6 separate regions of the Homo sapiens genome follow, and all the other regions are linked to region 1. Evidence: promoter capture Hi-C in 16 types of primary human blood cells and fetal thymus (Javierre and others, 2016). All regions are on one chromosome and are shown on one strand. The core of a region is centred on a gene start or on the middle of the fragment in contact, and the rest is flanking DNA. Distances in the headings are between cores, read along the strand shown.

The links. Contacts are between HindIII fragments. The CHiCAGO score rates a contact against its expected background, and 5 or more counts as called.
Region 2: the fragment with the promoter of LDHA here is called in contact with the fragment with the promoter of PIK3C2A in region 1 in 10 of 17 cell types (fetal thymus, activated CD4 T cells, M0 macrophages and 7 more); the score reaches 16.6 in fetal thymus.
Region 3: the fragment with the promoter of MISFA here is called in contact with the fragment with the promoter of PIK3C2A in region 1 in 2 of 17 cell types (M1 macrophages and M0 macrophages); the score reaches 7.2 in M1 macrophages.
Region 4: a contact is called between the fragment with the promoter of HPS5 here and the fragment with the promoter of PIK3C2A in region 1, in 7 of 17 cell types (total B cells, fetal thymus, M0 macrophages and 4 more). The highest score is 11.9, in total B cells.
Region 5: a contact is called between the fragment with the promoter of SPTY2D1 here and the fragment with the promoter of PIK3C2A in region 1, in 5 of 17 cell types (fetal thymus, total B cells, erythroblasts and 2 more). The highest score is 12.6, in fetal thymus.
Region 6: a contact is called between the fragment with the promoter of IGSF22-AS1 here and the fragment with the promoter of PIK3C2A in region 1, in 8 of 17 cell types (fetal thymus, activated CD4 T cells, total B cells and 5 more). The highest score is 20.7, in fetal thymus.

Annotation. Positions count from the first base shown.
Region 1 is chr11:17,206,495-17,210,264 of GRCh38, reverse strand. PIK3C2A (phosphatidylinositol-4-phosphate 3-kinase catalytic subunit type 2 alpha) reads left to right here and starts at 2,279. Exons shown (of 33, transcript NM_002645.4): 1 at 2,279-2,417. RefSeq lists silencers at 2,131-2,210, 2,561-2,820 and enhancers at 2,351-2,460, 1,966-2,488, 2,489-3,012. The HindIII fragment of the contact is 7,601 bases long and covers 1-2,318 here.
Region 2 is chr11:18,392,311-18,396,183 of GRCh38, reverse strand. LDHA (lactate dehydrogenase A) reads right to left here and starts at 1,621. Exons shown (of 8, transcript NM_005566.4): 1 at 1,548-1,621. RefSeq lists enhancers at 1-261, 1,526-1,615, 996-1,661, 1,926-2,015, 1,662-2,326 and a silencer at 716-765. The HindIII fragment of the contact is 13,104 bases long and covers 1-3,873 here.
Region 3 is chr11:18,597,587-18,601,357 of GRCh38, reverse strand. It overlaps MISFA (mitochondrial sheath formation associated), which reads right to left and starts at 1,569. Exons shown (of 4, transcript NM_001355570.4): 1 at 1,361-1,569; 2 at 178-266. The coding sequence starts at 1,429. LOC112268073 (a long non-coding RNA gene) reads left to right here and starts at 1,811. Exons shown (of 4, transcript XR_002957242.2): 1 at 1,811-1,927. The HindIII fragment of the contact is 4,225 bases long and covers 1-2,198 here.
Region 4 is chr11:18,320,090-18,323,535 of GRCh38, reverse strand. It overlaps HPS5 (HPS5 biogenesis of lysosomal organelles complex 2 subunit 2), which reads left to right and starts at 1,396. Exons shown (of 23, transcript NM_181507.2): 1 at 1,396-1,590. It overlaps GTF2H1 (general transcription factor IIH subunit 1), which reads right to left and starts at 969. Exons shown (of 15, transcript NM_005316.4): 1 at 796-969. RefSeq lists enhancers at 992-1,411, 1,422-1,721, 612-1,811, 949-1,898. The HindIII fragment of the contact is 9,902 bases long and covers 1-3,446 here.
Region 5 is chr11:18,632,477-18,636,025 of GRCh38, reverse strand. It overlaps SPTY2D1 (SPT2 chromatin protein domain containing 1), which reads left to right and starts at 1,684. Exons shown (of 6, transcript NM_194285.3): 1 at 1,684-1,828. The coding sequence starts at 1,769. LOC105376578 (a long non-coding RNA gene) reads right to left here and starts at 1,677. Exons shown (of 2, transcript XR_931097.3): 1 at 1,065-1,677; 2 at 33-146. RefSeq lists an enhancer at 1,194-1,463 and a silencer at 2,520-2,699. The HindIII fragment of the contact is 3,460 bases long and covers 1-2,988 here.
Region 6 is chr11:18,705,189-18,708,686 of GRCh38, reverse strand. It overlaps IGSF22-AS1 (IGSF22 antisense RNA 1), which reads right to left and starts at 2,206. Exons shown (of 3, transcript NR_186353.1): 1 at 1,538-2,206; 2 at 1,294-1,409. IGSF22 (immunoglobulin superfamily member 22) reads left to right here. Exons shown (of 23, transcript NM_173588.4): 19 at 392-480; 20 at 691-883; 21 at 1,474-1,773; 22 at 2,541-2,870. The HindIII fragment of the contact is 1,081 bases long and covers 1,141-2,221 here.

The sequences.
Region 1 (3,770 bases), core at 1,030-3,529:
TGAACCAAGAGAGGCGGAGGTTGTGGTGAGCCGAGAGCACACCATTGCACTCCAGCCTGGGCAACAAGTATGAGACTCTGTCTCAAAAAAAAAAAAAAAAAAAGTGAAGCCAGTGGAAGAAAGGAAACAGGAGAAATGGTTGCCAGCTATGTTCTAGTTGGTTCCAAATGACAGCAGCACCAGTTTGTACTGTCTCCCAGAAGTCTGTGTTCCTACTGTTTACACATGCATCTTCACAAGCCATTGCTGACAGATGAGATATGCTGAGAGAGGGTTACCTGTTCAGATTCTTGACACCTGGCAACTTGTGAAAGCTAATTTTTTTGGAATCTGGAAAACTATCAAACTCCTTTTCTTTCTCTTCACCTTATTGGGAACCTTTTGGTTGATCAGAGCCTACCATGTATCAGTCATTCAAAAGCTATAATAAAATAATGAATTCAGAACTGCAACAAGGAAGTGACTCAAGGACCAGGGCCCTCTGCTGCTGAGACTCAGGGGAAATACGTTTCATTAAAAAAAAAAATTAGAAGAAAAAATCCAGTCTGTCTCGCTGGATCAAAAAAAAAGAAAGGAAGAAAGAGAGAGAGGGAGAGAGGAATAAAGAAAGAGAAAGAAAAAGAAAGAAAGAAAAAGAAAGAAAGAAAGAAAGAAAGAAAGAAAGAAAGAAAACAAAAGAAAAAAAAAAGACAGACAAATAGTTACTCTTTCCTGAAGACTCAGTGTTCTCCCAAGGCCTCTTCCTTCTTTCCTGAAGGCACACTCAGATCTGGAGCAGAAGCTAGGAAGCTACCCTGAGATAAATCACTTTCCCCACCCTTTTTAATCTTGTGAAAGAGCTGCTGCCAATTTTAGAAATTCCTCCTTTGATCAGAAGATAAAGCAGAACAATGCTGCGGAACTAAGTTGATTTCTAAGGGACATTCTTCTAGAGTGTGTAGCCTGCCTGGAAGTGTGTGTGCATAGAGGAGGGGCGGGGTTGGGGGAAAGATAGGAGTTGGAAGGGGGGGGGGTGTACAACAGCCAGTAGCTACAGCCGTAAGAAATAATCACATTTGTTTCTAGAATTCCCCATAGAATAGAAACTCCATCCAATTTTACCATCCCTGCGGAGGTGCAGGCATGTTTATTACAGCGCTATGAGGGATTCATCCACTCCACATTCCCCATTGCCCTAGCCCCCTTTCGCCAACCCCCGTCCCTGCCAAATCAGGCCAATTTCTTTCTTTCCAGTTATTTGCTGAAAGTTCAACTTCTCTTAGAGCCTTCTAATTATGCGTATATCATATAGGCTGATAATTTTTAGTTTAGGCTGAGAAATGCAGCCTAAATCAGTCTGCCACATCAGATTGTGAACGTCTGGATGGTGTGGACCCCCTTCTCCTACTGCTTAAAAGACAATCTTGTTGTAAAACGCTATGGAATCGTTCCTCTCCCCTTAACATCTTTGTGCCCCAGAAGCCCCATCTGTAAATGGGGATAATTTTCCTATATCTTCCCATGGTTACGTAATTTTTAGATCTAACACGTGAGGACCAAACGCTTTACAAGCATAATCTCATTAAATTCTCAATAAGAATATATTATTATGGAGGTTGCATGTGAAAATACTTTGTAATGTAGAAAGAGCCGTCTGGCTGTGAGTTATTATCAGGGGGTTATCTTCCTTACCTGGCTGTTGTGAGGATGAAACGAGACGCCGACCTGAAAGCGTTTTACGTGCTATCAAGCATTTTACAGAAACCACGTGATAGGCTACTAATTACCCACCGTATACCACCTGACCCACCGTGAGGCCTCGGTAAATACTGGTTGGAGTGGACGAGTTTAAGTCTTGCCTGTTCCTTTCAGTCTTCCAATCACAAAGTAATCTCGGCGCCGCCAGGGGCCAAGACACAAATCTGGGAACCTCAGCCTAGATGGAGGAGGGTGCGGGGTCCCGGGAGAGGGGATGAGAACAATAGGGTACTTCAGTGCCCGGGCCCTGTTTAGCGGGTCTTCGGACTCAGGGCCCGAGGGGCGGCCAGCTGGGGTGTCCGGAGAGCTCCCCTCCCCAGGTCTGGGGTGTGCACGGAGAGGCGTCCAGAGCCTGCTCAGCATTCCTCGGGAGAGAGCCAGACCCTGGTCCCCCGGGCCCGTGCGCCCCAGCGCCCCAGCTCCCTTGCTCACGCCACCCCGGCAGCGTCCAAGCCCCGCCCGCCAGCTCAGGTAGGCCGTCCGCGCCAGCCAATTCGCAACAAGTCCGGGCGGGGAAGGCGGTGCTTCCCTGTCCGGAAGTGACGTGCTGCGCTTGGCTGGCTGTGGAGTCGGCCGAAGCTTTCGGCGGCGGCTGAGCCAGCTGAGGGGAAAAATGGCTCGGACTGTGGCGGCTTCGGCGGCTCAGGTTGTGGTAGAGGCGGAGGCTCAGGCAGCTTGAGGTGAGGAGCGGTCGGTGCGGCTGGGGACGATATTCGGGGTCCTGCTCTGCAAGGGTGGAGAGGGGCCCCGGGGTTCCCGGGCTGGAAGGGTCTCTTGTCGCGGCCCCCAGTGCCTTGGGTGCCCGCGTCTGACCCTCCATCCCGTGCTCTTGGCGTTGCCCAGCCCGACTCCCCCCTCCCTCCGGGCCTTGCTTCCACCCAGGCCGTGAGCAAGTGCTGCGCTGGAGGTGCGAGGAGCCCGCGTCCCCACCAGGCCCCTCTTCTCGGGAGCGGAGGTGCGCCAGGGAGTTAGTTTTGTCCCACAGAAGGAGGGCAGGCCCCCCGGCCGCCGGCCCCCCTCCCCCGCCTTGTCCCGCGGGACCGGGCTGGAGCCGCAGTGGCCGGTCCTATTTTCTTGGCAGATTGTTAGTTCTGGCGAGTGTGTGTGTTGTACTTCTCAGTGACGGCCCCTTCTTTCACCTCCTGTCCCATCTCTGGCTCTGGGGGCCAAGGATACTTTTTCTTCTTCCCGGACCCCCCACTCCCACCGCGTTGCCTTTAGCCGCGAATCCACTTGCTTTGGGAACACTATTCTTTCAGTGTGTATTTAGCGCATCATCCTTCTGAGAGAGCGGTCAGATTAAAAAATACTAGCTTAACTCTTCCTGAGTGACGGAGGAATCATAAATAATTGAAGAAAAAGGCACATACTTATTTTCCTCACTGAATTTCTGGCTTTAAAAACGACATTCTCTAGCTGTGGAATTATTTTTTGGGGGAGGAGGGATTGAGGAGGGAAATGAGGAAGGAGAAACTAAGGAAAAAAGTCTGGACATAACGTGGAAGAGAGAGCCTGTTGTAGTTCTTTTCCTATACTGGCCCGATAGAAATTGAGGTTATAATTATATTCTTATTTTGAACAGTGGGGGTTTGAATTAAGTGAAACGAAGGAGGCCTGCCTCTTTGAACAAGATTAGTTATTAAAGAATGTCCTGAAATCTTTCCTGGTGGGTTTCAGGCAGAAAAGCTCTGTTGGGAAAATTTTTAAATCTATTGTAGCATCAAAGGCCACAGCATATAAGAGATGCAAGAAGAAGAAAGCTGTTTGTAGGGGAACGGTGAAGACATAGTAGAAAGAGGGAAGGCTGCACAGAAGTCCAGGAACTAATTCCAGGAGAGACTTTGTACCTTTGCCTCCTTGGCTTGTGGTTCAAGTCTCCACAAGAGACTCCTTTAGCAGCTCTGCCATAGTTGGGGTTGGTGCTCTTTTTTTTTTTTTTAATTGACATGGGGTCTCACTGTGTCGCCCAGGCTGGTCTACCATGCCCAGCAGAATGGTGCTTTTTTTTTTTTTAAATTTGATCTAACCTTATC
Region 2 (3,873 bases), core at 372-2,871, 1.2 Mb before region 1:
GGCCTCCGGCCGTTGGGAAGCGGGCATCGGGCCAGAAGGCAGAAGGCTGAGAAGCCCCGCCCGTAAGCAGAGGCAATCTGGAGCTATGCAGCTCAGTGGGTGAGAGGGAGGGAGCTGGGATTCAGACTTCAGACCTAATGAATGCCCCGAAGCAGACGCCAGCAACGTGAAGCCTAGCTGGCAGCCTCCCAGGTCTGGCGCGCAGCCAGCGCCAGACTTTAAATCGCAATACTAGAAACCAGGGCCTGTTAACCAACCGGGAGGGAGGCGCACGGTGTGGCTTCGGCCGTGATCCTTGTTGCAAAGGCCTGTCAGGCCCAGTATGAAGAAATAGTTTCAGTACAGGGAGTGTAGAAATAGCTGCAGAAGGCCTGAGGCCTGCAGCCCTAGAGTTAATAGCTACTTGGTGGAACCCTCGAATTCTTTCCACCTTGTTAATCCAACCCTGCACTGCATTCGCTGGAGGAAATATCACAGGCTGCATCCCCAAAGTATCACGTCTAGTTTTGACACCACTCCAAAGGGCAAAAATCCGAGAGGACCTCTAGGCAGGCAGTCAGCCCAGAGTCACCAAGCTGGAGCCGGGTCTCTCCTTACAAATCACTGCTATTTCTAGACAGCCTTGTAAGGTTTCTAGCCTGGCAGGGGGAAGGGAGTTCCTGCGGACACCTGCTAGCTTCACTGAACGGCCCCGGGATCCAATGCTACCTTTAATGTAGGGGCGGAGGTGGGAGGGCATGGGATGAGGGAAGGGTGCGTCTAGAGGCGAGAGACATGCAAAAACGAGTTCTACACCTCACCTCTGCCTCCTACTCACTGGGAACTTAGAGATCCCTGACTGTCTCCTAGCTTTCGGTCTCCCTATTTGTTAAAAGGAGGAGTTGGTACCGGCGGATCCTACTCAACTGACCGTCTGAGGTGCGGAAGGGCTGGGATGCTGCCTGCTTCATCTTTGCATGCGCCGTGCCTAGCGCAGCCCGAGATACACCAGTAGCTTCTTAATAAATGCGCAAAGGGCTCCCTATAATCTGCAGGCAGCAGCTGCCCTCACGGAGCCCACCTCTCGAGCGTCCCAAGAGAAAAATGCAAGCCGCGTGGTACTCAGCCGCTTTCCGTCTTTCAAGAACCCGCCCCGGACAAGCTGAGGCTTTTTTGGCTCTATGGGCTCCGAGAACTGGACCTCGAGTTTTGCACCGCCCGCCGATTTCGAGCCCAGAGGTATCCCCCACCCTTAAGGCCTATCATATCCTTGTTCCGCATCCACCCGGGCTTTCGACCCCTGCTTGGGTGCGGCCACCTCCTCGGTTCCCCAGCGTGGCCAGAAGCCATGGTTCCCGCTTAGAGCAAAAGCAGAGCGCGGCGAGCTCCGAACACATGCGTTGTGTGGGCCGCCGCCCAGACGTCTCTGGGCTGTGCTTCTGGAAAGCGGCTCCTACACCTCCCGGGAGCAGGAATCCCTTCGCGAGCAGCGGAGGCCAGCAGAACCAGAGGCAGTTGGCTCTACCCGCCCATCCCTCTGGCGCCGTGCGCGCAGGGCCCTACCGTACCGGGAATGCACGTCGGGCGGTCGTCGGGGGCGCGTGGCAATGAGATCCGGAATCGGCGGCAGCGGCTGCAGCACTCTGAGCTGGGCGCGGGAGGGGCCTTAAGTGGAACAGCTATGCTGACGTCAGCGGGGGGGGCCGGCGGACGTGCGGGAACCCACGTGTGAGTCGGGCTGGGGGTGGATGCCGAGCCAGGCGGGGCACTGGAGAGGCCCGGGTGGCGCGCGCAGCCAGACAACCGACCGGCAGACTGCTCCACGTGCGCTGGGAGTCTAAGTAAGGTGCTGCCCTCCAACCACAGAAGCCGGGGTCGGAGCCATGAGCCTGAGTCAGGACGACCTTCAGTTTCCTCATCCATGAAACCTGGGGAGGTTACTCTCAGGAAGGCTTGGATCTGTTTCTTCTTCATCCCTGTTTCTCAGTGTCCAGAACAGCTTCTGGCACGTAATAGGCACTCCACAAATATTTGTTGAACGAAAGGAAGAAAATGCCTAGCAGTCAGTCAGTCTGTTCTTACCTAAGTCGAGTGACCTCCAAAACTCGACGCTGCTTTTCCCTCTGCTGCTAAGCCTACCAGCTCCCACTCACAGTGAAGCCTTGGCCTCTCAGGCCTTGCAGGGTGACTCAGTTCAAATGTACATTTTATTCTGCACTTTCTACTGCCCACCCCACTGGCATCTCATCTCGAGTCTCAACCATACCCAAGAACTGTCAGTGGCTTGTTTTTTTGGTTTTGGTTTTTTGTTTGTTTATTTGTTTTTTGGTATTTTTCGAGACAGGGTCTCACTCTGTCACCCAGGCTGGAGGGCAGTGGCGTGATCATGGCTTCCTGCAGCCTCGACCTTCTGGCTCAAGCGATCCTCCCACCTCGGCTCCCCGAAGTGACTGGGACTACAAGCGCGCCCACTTGCCCTGCGATTTTTTTTTTAATTATTAATTTTTTTTTTTTTGAAACGGAGTCGCTCTGTCGCCCAGGCTGGAGTGCAGTGGGCTGATCTCGGCTCACTGCAACCTCCGCCTCCCGGGTTCAAGCGAATCTCCTGCCTCAGCCTCCTGAGAAGATGGGATTACAGCCAGGCGCCACCACGCCCGGCTAATTTTTGTAATTTTTAGTAGAGACGGGGTTTCACCATGTTGGTCAGGCTGATCTCAAACTCCTGGCCTCAAGTGATCTGGCCGCCTCGGCCTCACAAAGAGCTGGGATTACAGGCGTGAGCCACCGTGCCCAGCTCAATTTTTTGTTTTCTTATCATACTTACCTCTGGGCCTGTATTCTTGCTGATTCCATTGCCTAGCCCGCCCTCCTCCATCTCTTCTTTAATTTGTACCAATACTTCCCCACTGTGGGGTATATTATGAAATATATTTGGTAAGCCCTTGAGTATGCCAAAATTTCCTGAATTTTCTGATAGGAATGTCTTTTGTTATTTATAAAGAGCCTTTTTCCCTGACTTAATGTTAATGAATGAGGAGTCTTAGATAGCCTCAGGAAGGAGCCAGTCATGGGAAAGACCAAATGATTAGGGAATTAGAGGGCTGGAACTTTCAGCCCAAAGGGGTGGATGGCTTTACTTACTCCCTGAACCTACAGCAGCAGCCCAGTGCAGCTTTGAGATAGATCCATAACTGAGTTTCTTGGTTTTGACGGAAAACTCTAACCTCAGCTCCAAAATAGCACAAGGGGCCAGGTGCAGTGACTCATGCCTGTAATCCCAGCACCAATGTGGTTGAGGTGGGAGGACTGCTTGAGGCCAGGAGTTCGAGACTAGCCTGGGCAGCATAGTGAGACCCTGTCTCAAAAAAAAAAAAAAAATAGCAGGGCATGCTTGCATGTTCTAACAGTTTTCCCATCACTCTAGATTCTAAGATCACTCTAGGTTCTGAAATGGGGCTCTCACCTCAAACACACAGCTGGAAAGTTTAGGGGTGGGCCACTGATTCTTCAGAGTACCTCAGGGCAGGGCAGATTGCCACAGTGTTTTCCGGTTTCTCAGTCTTTGCAACAGTGTTCTCAGTCAGGGCTGGGCCCCTGCCTGCCTACCAAATGTGACCACTGCTGCTGGGAAGAGGTGTGCAGAAGGCAGAGAGCTGAAGTTGGCTGGGGAGACGAAGAATTTTCACCTGAAAGGCTTGGGTTGGGGCACTCTGAGATGACCTGTGAAGATAAACTAGGTAGAGTCTTCATTCCCCTAATTTATGATACCTAGCAACAGCTTGCTCCAAGCACAGCTTCAGGCTTCTTAGGCAGAACAACAGCCAGTATTTGACTCCACAAATATGAATAAAACAAATACCATTTACTGAGCACCTGCTATGGTGCTGGCAGCCA
Region 3 (3,771 bases), core at 320-2,819, 1.4 Mb before region 1:
GGTTATTAATAGACAACTTTGGCCTGCTGTCCTCAGCAGTACTCACCAAATCATTTCCCCTTCCACAGTTTATTATATTTTCCAGAGGAATAAACATTCTCCACTGAGACTTCAGGGTGCTACCAAGTACTTTGGAAAGGGAGGAATCCAACCCACCAGACCTGACCACCCACTTACTGCAGCAGATCTTCACCTAAAGCCCGCCTCCTCAGTTGTGTTTTGCTCTCCTGAACAGGCCACCTCTCCTGCCACTTCAGAGTTGGAGGCTGAATCAGAAAGAAAATTTGAGGGCAGAGATGGCTCTACTCATTGGCCCAGTGGGTAACCACTCTGTGTGGTGACCAGAAGGGCTGCTAAAAGGTCCCACCAATCCCTACCGTCCCCCTTCCTACCAATAACCACTGATCCACTTGGCCTGCAATCCGCAAGTCAAATACGGTCTCCAGCAGACCCCTTGCAAATTCCATAGTGCTTTGAAACAAGTACAGCTATATATGCAAGGGAGGGGGAAACAAAAAAAGACTTAAAAGGATGTCCTGGCCGGGCGCAGTGGCTCACGCCTGTAATCCCAGCACTTTGGGGAGCCGAGGCAGGCGGATCACGAAGTTAGGAGATCTAGACCATCCTGGCTAACACAGTGAAACCCCGTCTCTACTAAAAATACCAAAAATTAGCCAAGCATGGTGGTGGGAGCCTGTAGTCCCAGCTACTCGGGAGGCTGAGGCAGGAGAATGGCATGAACCCAGGAGGCAGAGCTTGCAGTGAGCCGAGATCGCACCACTGCATTCCAGCCTGGGCGACAGAGCAAGACTCCGTCTCCAAAAAAAAAAAAAAAAAAAAAAAAAGGATGTCCCCAGCCAGGCGTGGTGGCTCATGCCTGTAATCCCAGCACTTTGGGAGGCCGAGGTGGGTGGATCACCTGAGGTCAGGACTTTGAGACCAGCCTGACCAACATGGAGAAACCCTGTTTCTACTAAAAACACAAAATTCGCCAGGCGTGGTGGTGCATGCCTGTAATCCCAGCTGCTCAGGAGGCTGAGGCAGGAGAATCGCTTGAGCCTGAGAGGCGGAGGTTGCAGTGAGCCGAGATCGCGCCACTGCACTCCAGCCTGGGCAACAAGAGCAAAACTCCATCTCAAAAAATAATAATAATAATAAATAAAAAATAAAAAAGGATGTCCCTAGTGGGATGGGAAGTAGCCCGGTAGCCTGGGACACTAACTTTGTTCCCATCACATTCTGACTTCCAGTTAGTGGTGAGACCTCAACTATCTTTCCCATTTGGTCAGAAAACCCAGACAGGAAGATGAGCCAGCACAGGACTGACCACCAGGGATTTACAGGCAGAGCCATTACTTACCATCAACTCTGGAAACGTGCCCATGTAACACACAAGTCCAACAAAAAACATCCAGCCAAGCACAATCATGATCAAACGTAAAACAATTTCTAAGATAAAATTGCACAGTGAAAGACTATTCACCAAGATCTTGGCAAAGGAGTGCGCTCACGAAACCTTCAGTTGGTAGAGGTCTCGCATGTCTGTTCGAGTCTTTGGCTCCAAAGGATCCACAACTCCCTAGTGGAGAAGCTGAAATCTAGTAGGGCATTGTGACATCATTGACCATATGGCCCAGACTCAAAACACACCAGAGACACTGCCCCCAGACCAGCAGCTGAGCAGCAAACAGCAACACTATGAAGTAGGCATTATTGTTAACCCCATTTCACTAATCAGAAAACTAAGGCTTAGACTACAGCCTAAGTGACCCGCACTACAGCACATAGCTGATGCTCCAGATCAGGGCCAAGACTTAGGACTCAGCTGCCTCTTGGGCAGCTGGGCTCTTTACACTAGAGGCAGAGATTTGGAAAGGTGTTTTGCTGCTAGGTGTACGACATGTGAACGAAACAAACTGAATTACAGGTAAATGAGACAGATGTCTCTATTTCTGTCCCTGCAAAACCTCCTCTCCCCATGTCAAGGGGATCCTCAGCATGATGGTATATCCACATCTTCATCACCTTGGATTAGTTCCTCTCCATTGATTCTCTTTTCTTGGCCATCATGAAGCCACAGGTACCCCTGTCCTTTCCTCAAAAAAACTTCCAGATGATACTGTGGCTCCTTCCCTGTCTTATTTCTTAATTTCCTTTTATGACCAAACTTCCTAAACAAGTGGTCCATACTCAAAGCTTTTTCCAATCTACGCCTCTTCCATGCATTACATTCTGACTTCTAGCCCCACCCCACTATTAGACACCCTCTCAGAGGTCACCAAAGATATTTTTTGCTTTTCTGCTACAACATCATGGACATTTAATGTATTTTTCATCTCTACAATTTTTTTTTTTTTGAGACAGAGTCTTGCTCTGTCGCCCAGGCTGGAGTGCAGTGGTGCAATCTCAGCTCACTGCAACCTCCGCCTCCTGGGCTCAAGTGATTCTCCTGCCTCAGCCTCCCAAGTAGCTGGGATTAGAGGCACCCGCCACCACGCCTGGCTAATTTTTGTATTTTTAGTAGAGATGGTGTTTCACCATGTTGGCCAGGCTGGTCTCGAACTCCTGACCTCAGGTGATCCACCCGCCTCAGCCTCTCAAAGTCCTGGGATTACAGGCATGAGCCACCGCGCCTGGCCTGTTGTGATATTTCCTGCTTCTTTAAATGTCTTACAACTTTTGATTAGATGTTGAACATGGTAAATTTTATTGCCGAGTGCTGGATTTTGTTGTATTCAACAGTGTTAAATTTTATTCTAAGGTGCACTTAAGTTACTTGCGATCAGTTTGATTCTTCTGAGGCTTGTTTGAAGCTTTATGATAGGCCAGGAGCAGCCTTTACTCTAGGGTTAATATCCGCACTGCTGAGTTAATGACCATTTTCTCTGAGCACCTTCTCTGAGGCTGATTGTATTAGAGCTTTTTTTTTTTTTTTTTTTTTTTTTTGGAGACAGAGCTTTGCTCTTGTTGCCCAAGCTGGAGTGCAAGGGCGTGATCTTGGCTCACTGCAACCTCCGCCTCCTGGGTTCAAGTGATTCTCCTGCCTCAGCCTCCTGAGTAGCTGGGATTACAGGCATGCACCACCACGCCCGGCTAATTTTGTATTTTTAGTAGAGACAGGGTTTCTCCACGTTGGTTAGTCTGGTCTCGAACTCCTGACCTCAGGTGATCCGCCCGCCTCAGTCTCCCAAAGTGCTGGGATTACAGGTGTGAGCCACTGTGCCCGGCATAGATCTTCCAAATCTGTGGAATGTTCCACAATTCCCTGCCCTTCAGGAACTCCAAGAAGTGTTTGGCCGACTGCTTTTGGGTGGATCTTTTCCAGGCCTCATCGAGTTTTATCCCATATATGTGCAGACAGAACTCAGCCAAAGACTTATAAGGGCCCCTGTGGAAATCTACAGAGCTTTCTCCATGGAGATCCCTCTTCTTAGCACTCCATCCTGCAAATTCTGGCCTCTGCTGTATTTTGCTATCTTTCTCTTCAACTCAGTGAAATGCTCAGTTGGGTAACTCCTTTCTGTGCCACAGTCTGAAAACTGCCTCCTGGCTGGAGCAATTGTAGGACTCACCGTCACTGGTTTCCTTTCTCTCAAAGTACACAGTTTTGTGCTGTCTCTTGTACAAGATCTGAAAACAATTATTTCATGTTTTGTGCAATTTTCTATTTATGAAGAGAAGGTAATTTCTGTAACAGTTGATCCTTCACAGGCAGAAGCAGAAGTGTATGTTCTTCTTTTTGGAGACAGTCTTGCTTTGTTGTCAAGGCTG
Region 4 (3,446 bases), core at 147-2,646, 1.1 Mb before region 1:
TGGACAAAGGGTGTATTTTTCATATCTTCTTTCCCCATCCCCATTTTACTGATGCTAAAATTGGAGTTTAGGAGTCATTTGGGGCCAGGCACTGTAGCATAATTCTGGCGCTTTGGGAGGTCTAGGCAGGAGAATCGCTTGAGCCCAGGAATTCGAGGTTACAGTGAGCTATTATCACGCCACTGCATTCCAGCCAGGACGACAGAACAAGACTCTGTCTCTTAAAAAAAAATAAGAAAAGTCACCTCCTTATTTAATTTGGCCTTTGAGAACACTGGGGGATTTACAAAATAATTACATATATCCAGGTACTCATGGTCTATTTTTCATCATTACACGACAATCAAATGACCAAAACTAGGAGTGTGTGGACTGGCACGTGTTAAGGTTTTTAAGAGAGGTAAGATTGACAGGTGGAAGCAAAAGGTGTGCAGACAACAAGGTGACAGCTTTTCTCTTACAGAATCCCAGACTCAACAGCACATTTCCTGACGGGAAGGGCTTCTCTGTCTGGGAGAGGCCTCCACTTCATTCTCATAAGCCAAATCTGATCCTGGCTTTGGGTAAACCTGCTCTCAATTTAAGAGCAGGTTTCCTTTAGACAAGTAGATTAGGGGTCGCCTCTTCCTCGCCTCGGGATAAGGGCAAACAAGACGCCAGGCTTGGGCGTTGGGAGGACGGCGACAGCGACGCTGGGAACAGGGGTAGAATCCACGCCGTCCAGCGGCCCCCAGGCCTGTCAGCTCCTCACCCGCCCACCCACCCGCCCGCCTGCATTCTTCGGTCTAAACTTACCAGGTGGAAGCTACAACTCTAGACAGGAAGTAACTAACTGGGTTGGATCCGGTCGAGTTCCGCTGCGCTTCTTAGAGCCGCTGCTGGGAAGAGGCCGAAACCCAGTGGCCGCAGCAGTAGCCACCGCCTCTGTTACTAGGGGGTCTCGCCTCCATCGCTGGCTGCGAGGAGTCTGAGGGCACGTGACCGGAAGTAGCAAGGCGGGCCCTGGGCACGTGACTCAAGAGCGCGGCCGCCATGACACCTTCCGCTAGTTCCCTCCCTCCCCCACGGGTTCCCGCCTGTTTCGTTTCCTCTCTCCGGTCTCGAGCGGCGAAGGGTCCTGGGATCCTGGCTGGCCCAACCATTTGGCCTAGAGCTCCTCCGGTTCCAGTCGGCGCCGTGTCTCCAGCCCGCAACGGCCCTGCGGTCGCAGGCCGTAGAGAGCGTAATCGCGACCGCGGCCTGAGGGGGAGGGACCACGCGGAAGGAGGGGCGTGACTCGTCACGTGATGAGGAAGTGCCGTTAGTAGCGTTGTTTCCAGTCTGCGGCTCTCCTGGATGACGTCAGCAAGGAAGGGGAGGAACGCGAGGGGAGACTGAAGTTCACGTTCCGCTCTTAGTGCGCGGTGAGTTCCCCGGCGCTAAGCCGGGAGACAAGATCCGATCTACTGAGAGCTGCGAGGTACTGCCCTGGATGTGGTGGAGCTGGGCTGGGACCTCCGGGCTGCTGGTCTGTGAGCCTGGCTTTGAAAATTGGTTACTGGGTCTCCTCTCAAGAAATCTCAAGATATTAAAGTTACTGCTGTTAAAAAGGTAGTAGTTCCACTAGGCAAGGAGCTTTTTGTGGGTAGGGATTGTGTTTTGTTCATCCCTGTGTCTCTAGCGGTGTGTTCAGGTCCTGGAACATAGTAGGCACTCAGAATGTTGAATGAATGAATGTATAAATGAGTCAGTCGCCATTTGTCTGAGGCAGAGAGTTGTTTTCTGATCATTTCTTCTTGGATAGAAAGATCCCATTGTGAAAATGAGGCAGTCTGCAACTTCCCCTTCTCATTTCTTCAATTTTTGCTATCTTTCTTACTTCTTTCTCCTCTTCCTCCACGCACCTACTGGGGCAAAAGAGAAACATGTTTGCATTTGATGTGTGAGCAACAAACACTGAACTATTTTACGATAATGGAAAGATGAGATTTGGATTCAGGAGACGCGTATTCTAATCTCAGCTCTACCATTTATGAACTCTGTGATCCTTGGGCAAGCCAGTCTCCCAAAAGTTGTTTCATTTACTTTGGTTAAGCATTTGTCGCCAACTTCTATGTTCTTAGTTTTTGGTAGAGTGCCTTCACAGAAGTAACATTTAAACTCAGCTTTGCAGAAAGGTAGGGTTTTGGTAAATGGGGGAAGATTCCATAAACATCATATATTAAACCATGGAGGCACAGCAAGTTTATGGAATGAAAAAGAAAAAAAGAGTCGAGTCCAATGTAGTTGGAGAATAGAGAGGTTAAGATGGGAAATAAGGCTGGAAAAAGAAGCAGGGAGGAGATAACAGATTTTCAAGAAATAGAGCTGTTGAAGGCTTGTACAATATTATGTATATATTTTTTAAATTTTATTGTGGAAAATTTCAAACGCAGACAAAAGTAGGATAATAAATTGAACCCTCATGTACACTTAACGCAACTTGAACAATTATCAGCATTCTGCTGTTCCTCTTTATACTGTTTGTACATTTCTAGGTACTTTTTATATCCATTGTTGCATTTGATTAATAGCAGCTTTCAATTTGAGCTCAGTTCTACTGTATGTAGCTACTGGCTAAGAAGATTTTATTTATGTAAACAATTTCTTTGGGTTTTAGTTGACCACTTGCTCTGTTGAATCAATGTGTAACATGGCCACTTAAACACAACTAATACTGTTTTTAGGTTGTAATATAGAAACTTAGTGTCTAGATCCAGGAAGTTAGTGTTTCTACTCTATTCTGGGCTCATCTAACTACTTAAGGAGTATTATGCTCAGTTCTAGGCACCTCATTTTTAGGCAAACTACAGTGCCTCTGTAGAAGGTTGACTGGAACAGAGGGTTGGAAAATGTCATGTCAGGAGTGATGAAGAAACTGGGAATGTTAAATTTTTAGAAGACCTGATAATGCTTTTCAAATACAGAAGGATTGTTTTGGAAAGAGACAGCTTGTTCCCTTCAGCTGTAGAAGCTACATACAATTAGGAATAATGGTAGAGCTCTAAGTGATCAGGCTTCAGCATAGTATTAAAAAGAACCTTATAATAGTGAGCCCTTTGGAGGACTGGAATTGGCAGCTTCATGAGAGTGAGTGCTTTCTTTCCATGGCTGAAAATGTTCAGGGATCTAGGGCAAAACTAATTTCTGAATTAGGTGGACATGTTCACTGAATTACCTATGAATCTTTTTCCATCTTGAGAATTCTAGGAAGTAGGGCTCATGTGCGATCTTGAAAGCTGGGTATGTTTGGATAAGAAAATCTGGAAGGGAAGCAGTCATTTCAGGGAGAGTAAACATAAAGTATAAAGTTGAAGTTGGTTTAACACTGTCATTCAGCAGCTTCTCTGAGAATTGGCATTGCTTATGCTGTTTTTATTTTCCATTCTCATTTCTGTTAAATTCTTTTTTTCTTTTCAGTAGAACTT
Region 5 (3,549 bases), core at 435-2,934, 1.4 Mb before region 1:
GGGCTGCCAATAACAAAGTACCACAGACTAGGTGGCCTAAACAACAGACATTTATTGTCTTAACAATTCTGGTGGCTAGAATTCCATGATCAAGGTGTGGTTACCTTGAGGTCTCTCTCCTTGGTTTGTACATGGCTGTCTTCTCCCTGTGTTTTCACAAAACGATGTAGGAAAGAAAGGCTAATCTATAATCAGAGGAACAAACGCAGCTGCCTGTTATGTAGCTCAGGTTCCATAATAACATTCTTTTAAGGCGCAAAATAACTTAAAGTTCCAACAGCTTTGATTTTGAATTACGTTCGCAGCATTAAACCATCAAAGAGTAAGAGCCAGCAGCTTTGTCTAGCATGTTTTTTGTTTTTTTTTTTTGAGACGGAGTCTCGCTCTGTCGCCCAGGCTGGAGTGCAGTGGCGGGATCTCGGCTCACTGCAAGCTCCGCCTCCCGGGTTCACGCCATTCTCCTGCCTCAGCCTCCCAAGTAGCTGGGACTACAGGCGCCCGCCACTACGCCCGGCTAATTTTTTGTATTTTTAGTAGAGACGGGGTTTCACCGTTTTAGCCGGGATGGTCTCGATCTCCTGACCTCGTGATCCGCCCGCCTCGGCCTCCCAAAGTGCTGGGATTACAGGCGTGAGCCACCGCGCTCGGCCTGTCTAGCATGTTTTAACAGCTTGACATATTTACATACTGTATCATTCTCACCCGTCTTAAGTGTACGATTTTTAGTACATGTATAGTGCAACCATCCCCACAATCCAGTTTGGAGGCATTTCCATCCCACCGAAAAGATCCCGAGTACCTGTTTGCTATCAATCCCCTGGCGGGTTCCCACTTGCAGACCCAGGTTTGCCTAATTATTTTCAGTGTTTTTGCTAAGTCGAAATGACCTTACAGATCCAAGATAACTCTCCAAAAGAAGTCAGGACTAGGATCCCAATGAATATGAATATGAAGCATATGTTCATCAGTACACCAAAGTTATGTCAAGGCTGGGTCTGTATGTGAAATTCCTTAATCCATTGCCTGAGCAAAAACACAGGTTGGCTGCTCCACATAAAACTTACTTTCTAAACGGGGCAAAAGAAGTAAGCGCGTGCCCCCATCCCCGGCACGCGTGCATCTGAGTAGGAGGTAAGCGCACGGCATGTGGCCGAATTTGATGAGTAATGGGCATCCAAGACAGGACCACGGCGCTGCTGTGTGCGCCTGCGCAGCTTCGCGAGCGCCTAGACACAAGTAGCCCAAACCCCGGCTCGAGATCCGTCTGTTCAGCTGTTGTGGCGCCGCCGTTTTGGATCTAAGCGCCTACCCGTGACACCCAGAGAACCCAGGCCTGGCAAGTAAACCCTCTACCCCCTCACTTTCTCTACCCAGCGCTCACAAGGAGCAACAAGATGACAAGACCGCGCGCCCGGGCCACCAGGGAAGCCGCTCTCTCGCTTAGCCACACCCCCTTGGTTGCTAAAATGCCTAGTCCCTGCCCCTCGGGTCGACGCCAGCAGCCACGTATCACGTTTGTACGTGTCTCGGCCTAAAAGCGGAAGTTACGCAGGGACTCGCGAGCGCTGTGGCGGCCCTGAAAGGATATAGGCCGTGGAGGGAAGGGGGCGGGCAGACGGCATAGGAAGGCGCCGGAAGTGGTCCCGCAGAGGCGGGGTGGGAGTGGGGCTCCCGAGGCAGTGCAGTTGGCTGTAGCTGGGCGCCTCGGTTAGGTGCGCTGTCAGTCCTTTCCGAGTGCCTGGCCCAGTCTCTCCCGCCTCGGCCCAACATGGACTTCAGAGAAATTCTCATGATAGCTTCCAAGGGACAAGGTGTCAACAATGTGCCGGTAAGTAGCAGCTGGGGCATCAATGTAGGGGACCCTAGTCTTCCAAGTTCGGAATGTGTGTGGCCCATGGAACTTCTGGGCAGCCGCCTATCGGCTCCGGGAGAGGAAAGACCCGGACGCCTTATTTCCTTTTCTTGGGTTTATACTCTTGGGAACTCGGGAGAAAAGAGCTTGGGACGAGACGCGGGAGCCTTCCTGTGAATGGGTTTCGCCGGCTTATTTACCCCTGCAACAGGGACTTTGCGGTTTGGGTGTTGTAGCTAGAATTGCGTGAAAGCCGTGAGTGAGCTGTGCCTGGCACGCTGTGGATTCTAGCGCTGGTAGTTTTTGGCTTCCACATAAACTTCAGCCTAGAGATTGGGAAGGAAATATGTATGTAAGGGAGTTAGGGGGTTTGGGGTCCTTGGCTTGATAGCTTTTTGGCTGGCTTCTCATCGATCTTCAAGTCAAACGTTTAGCGATTTCTTGAAAGAATTCTCTGACTCGGCCCCACCCACTCAGCCACCGAGGTGATTAAATTATCACCTCCCAGGGGATAGGTATCATCTTTTGGGAAGAGAAGTTTAGCAGATTCCACGAAATCCTTGGCCAACAGAATAGGTGAGCTAGTTTCAGCTTCTGTTTACTTGTAGCCTTCCAGATTTCAGTCTTTGTTTAAAATCTAGGTCCCATTTGGTCAGTAGATGTTTGTCAGTTCGCTTACAGTCGCAAGAGCGGTGTAAGACTTAAATGGTAAAGTGGTGGAGAGCGCCTGGTTTCTGGGGGTTATGGCTGTTTTGCATAAGCTAATCATTTCCAGATTTTCAGATGGTACCCACAGCACAGCTGTAAACCGATAAGTTGCATGGTGATGCCTGCGGTTTGAGCAGTGAGGTATAGAACTAAAACGGCTCTCAAAGTCAATTCAGCTAGAATTTATTGAGCTCCGACGAAGTGCTCTGCATTTCCTAGATATTCGTATATTGCAATATTCGTTTTTTTCTCTTCTGCAGCTTTTTTTTGTCTTCTGAGGCTAGTTCATTCTTTTATCCCTTTGAAAATATTGATCTGAAAAAGGTCTATATTTATGTTTATAAATATATGTATATATACACACACACAGCCATCCCTTATCCCAAGAACTCTGAATAACCATTCCTCTAAGCCGTGAGTCATAAGCTTTGCATGTTGAAGGTATAGACTCAAACCTTTGAAACCCAGATCAACAGATTTACTTTCTAGAAGCATCTGTAAATTTTCCAGATGAATCAATATTGGGTCTAGTAACCATTCATCTTTGCATAATTTGGTCTGTATTTCATTCTAGATCTTATTGAATTTCAGTAAAGGTCAAAGATAGTACTAGCTTTGATGCCCAGTACTGTTCTGTGGAAGAATCAGAACTAAGTCATTTCTTATTCTGAAAGCCAGTAGCTGCTGGGAGAAAAGCAGACAGATAATCCTAAAGCAGAAAATTTCAAAATATGTGTATATGTCATAATATATGCATTATCTATGATTGGAATAACAGAAGAATCAAAAAGGGGAAAAAAGTAATTTAAAATTTAATAGATGGGCGCAATGGCTCAGGCCTGTAATCCCAGCACTTTGGGAGGCCTAGGCGGGAGAATCACCTGAAGTCAGGAGTTTGAGACCAGCCTGACAAATATGATGAAACCCCATCTCTACTAAAAATACAAAAATTAGCCGGGCATGGTGGTGTGCGCCTGTAATCCCAGCTA
Region 6 (3,498 bases), core at 957-3,456, 1.5 Mb before region 1:
TCTCTCCCAACATTAGCTTGGTCTGAAACCAGGAATGATTAAGGGCAGTTTGGAGGGTAAAGGCAAGATGGGGGTTGGTTAGATCAGATCTCGTTCACTGTCATAATTTTCTCGCTGTTATAATTGTTGCAATGGCAATTTCAAAAGGAGGTGTTAGGGTTATAGAAACAAGACACAAGGACTTGCCTTCCAGGGTCTTGCGTACTAGTAGAAGGAGACAGATGAGAAAACAAATAAATGCTTCACAGGGTTGCAGGGCAGCTAGATGTCTGTATGGCCTGTAGTGGGGGCATAAAGGAGGAGAGGTTGGGAAGGCTTTGATGAGGAGGCTTAAAGCAGAGTCTTCTTGAAAGACAGATCCATGCCTCCACCTCTGTCTCCTCCATCTCAGCTGCACCCAAGTTTGACCTCAGTGCCCGGCTGAAGAGTCACATGGTGGTTCGCGCTGGGACAGCCCTCTGCATCCATGCAGCCTTCTCTGTGAGTTGTCCCTGACCCTGACCTCCATACACTGTCCACATAACCAAGATGGCTATTGTAGCCATCACAGTCTCTGACTCTGACTCTGACTCTGCCCCTCACCAGACCCCTAGTGCGACAGCCTGGCAGGAAACTCCTCGACAATGGAGGAAGGCCTGCCCCCAAATATCATCTGTGTGACCAGTTGTGCCATCTCCTGTCACTACTCAGGGCTCACCACCACCTGACGTGATCTGGCAGAAAGATGGCGTTCCCACCAAGGGCCGAGAGACAATTACCAAGAGCAAAAACCACTCCCAGTTCCTCATTAATAGCACCAAGCGCTCTGACTCAGGGGTGTACCGAATCTTGCTTCAGAATGAGTTTGGAGAAGCACGCTATGACATCCATGTGCGCGTGGCAGGTATGGAGAGAAGGCAGAGGCCTCCAAGACCCATCCCTGTACACTCTCCAAAGCACAGCTCCCCAGTGCCGCTTGAGTTCCTACCACAGGAAAGTCATGCCTTAGGGCCATGAAGATTTCTTTGACACCACAGAGCAAGACTTTATCATACAGAGTATGGTCGGCAGAGAGAGTAGAAATGGGTGGAGGGGCAGGAGGGACAAATGGAGATGAATCCATTAAAAATTGGGGTGACTGCTTAAAGAGAGCTGGAAGCTTTAAAATAAAGCTCTAAACCCCCAAGGAAGGAATGGATTCATTTTTACTGAACAGTAACTACATGCCAGTCTCTTTACCCACTATTTCTACGAAATAGTCATTGTCAGCTCTATTTTGCAATTGAGGAAAGAAGTCTCAGATAAGTAACTTACCCCAGGTCACGAGGCTAGTAAATGGCAGAGCAGACTTCAGAAATAGTTTTCCGACTCCAAGACACCAGCTGCCTGAGACTTGCCCCATCTTATCTTCCATCGGACTTGGCAGATGGCTGGGGTGGGGACATAATACTTCAGGTGCCCCAAGGTCGCTGACAGATCTTCCAACTCTTCCAGATTTCCCTCGGCCCCCCACAAACCTACGGTTGTTTGAGGAAGTCCCCAACACAGTGACTCTGACCTGGAACCACAGCCCAGATGTGCAGGAGGACGGTGAGGCTCACTACATCATCATGAAGCGGGATGCAAGCACAGCCACCTGGTACACGGCAGCCGAGCGTGTCTTCAGCAACAAGTACACAGTGACGGGGCTGCTCCCAGGCAGGAAGTACTACTTCAGAGTGGTGGCTCGGAATGAAATCGGTGACAGTGAGCCACTTGACTCCAGGGACACCTGGCTCATCAATAAGGACCAGAGTGAGTCTGGGACTTGCAGTTAGGGTTAAGTCTGGGTGCCCTGATGGTGGGGATGACATAAGGGTCCCAAAGGGTACCCAAGAGGCAAGATAAAATCTGAAAACCATTGAGATAGAACGGTTAATATCTGGGACGCTGCGGAGAGAAGGAAATATTGGCTTTCTTCGGGGTACTTAGGGGTGAGACTAAAGTGGAGGTGGGGAGGTACCTTTGGGGGCAGAGAGGACGGTGGAGGGGCTGCGGAGGGACATAGAGCGCAAACGCGTTCTGCTCTGAGGGGAGGGTCTAACGGGGCTGAGAACAGGGGAGGGCTCTAGGGAGCCGGGAGGATGTCTGGGATCCCTGGAGGCTAGGGGTTAAGGGTGGGGGCCGCGTCGGGAAACTCGAACTGAGGAGCTAAAGGGATAAGAGGGGAGACTGTGGTCGCTGATATGACGTAGGGGAAGCTTGGAGGCGGAGTTAAAGGCTGGGAATAACCGGGTCCAGGAAGCTGGCGCTGGAATGACATCTCGGCCCCAGGGGTGTGGGAAAGCGTGGTTTGGGTGGCAGAACCCTGGAGTGGCTGGGGACGGGGCTGGGGGGTCGGGGGAGGCCTGGGGGCGGGTGGGGAGCCCTTAAGAACCAGTGTAACATTGGGCCCCCAGAGTTGGTGGCGCTGGGAATGTGGCCTAGGTCCTCGGGGTTCCGTGTAAGCTGAACTGTAAGACGTGGGTGGTGGGTGGGGGCCTTGGGGCGCCCTCACGGCCTGCCCCGCCCCGCCCGCGCAGTCCAGGACCTGAGCGCCAAGCTCAAGCCCTACGAGAAGAAGGACTGGCGCCACGCGCCGCGCTTCGTGACGCCCCTCAAGCCACACACGGTGCTCCGCGGCCAGGACTGCACCATGACCTGCGCCTTCCTTGGGAACCCGCGGCCCACAGTGACCCTCTACAAGGGCGACGTCAACATCACGGCCAACTCCAAGTTCTGGTACAACTCCACCAGCGGCGTGTGCACCCTCGTCATCCCCACCTGCACGCTCAAGGACAGCGGCGATTACAGCGTGCTGGTGGAGAACGAGCTGGGCAAGGACCGCAGCAGCTGCACGCTCACCGTCTATGGTGAGGGCGCCGCGGGGTCCGGCCTCGAGGAGGGGGAGAGGCGCAAAAGGCTGGTCTTGTGGGCCATTGGTCAACTATTTGGCTGGCACCGTTTTTTAATCTGACTGCCAACAGGTGGTGCAAACATTCTTAATTGGCCACAGTTCTTACCACTCTCCCATCCTTTCGATGTCATTTGTTATATGCCTGGCCCCTGCAGACATGAGAGTTCTCAATCCCTAGATAAGATGTGGTTTGCAACTCTTGGTGAGCCTAGACCTGCCTTCAGAAAAAAGATACTGGTGATCAGGACTCAACCAGACTCACCAATCACGATCTCTCTGGCACGGTTCTGGAAATAACCTATATGTTTACAAAATTTTGCGGGTGATTCTGATGTGCAATAAAAATTAAAACTGGTCTAGGATAAGGACCGGTGGGGGGCACAAACAAGGGAAGGAGCGAAGGGAACCCTCCCTTTTGTACATGCATGCCATGTTTCTACTCATGTGTGCACACATAGGGGGAAGCATTTTATTCCTTCCCAGTCTACTGTCTTCATAGCCACACAGCTAGCAGCATGAACTCTAAATGCAAAGCTGGCCTGCCTTGCTTTCTGTTGCTTAAATTTCCCCCAGCTTTCCTCTCA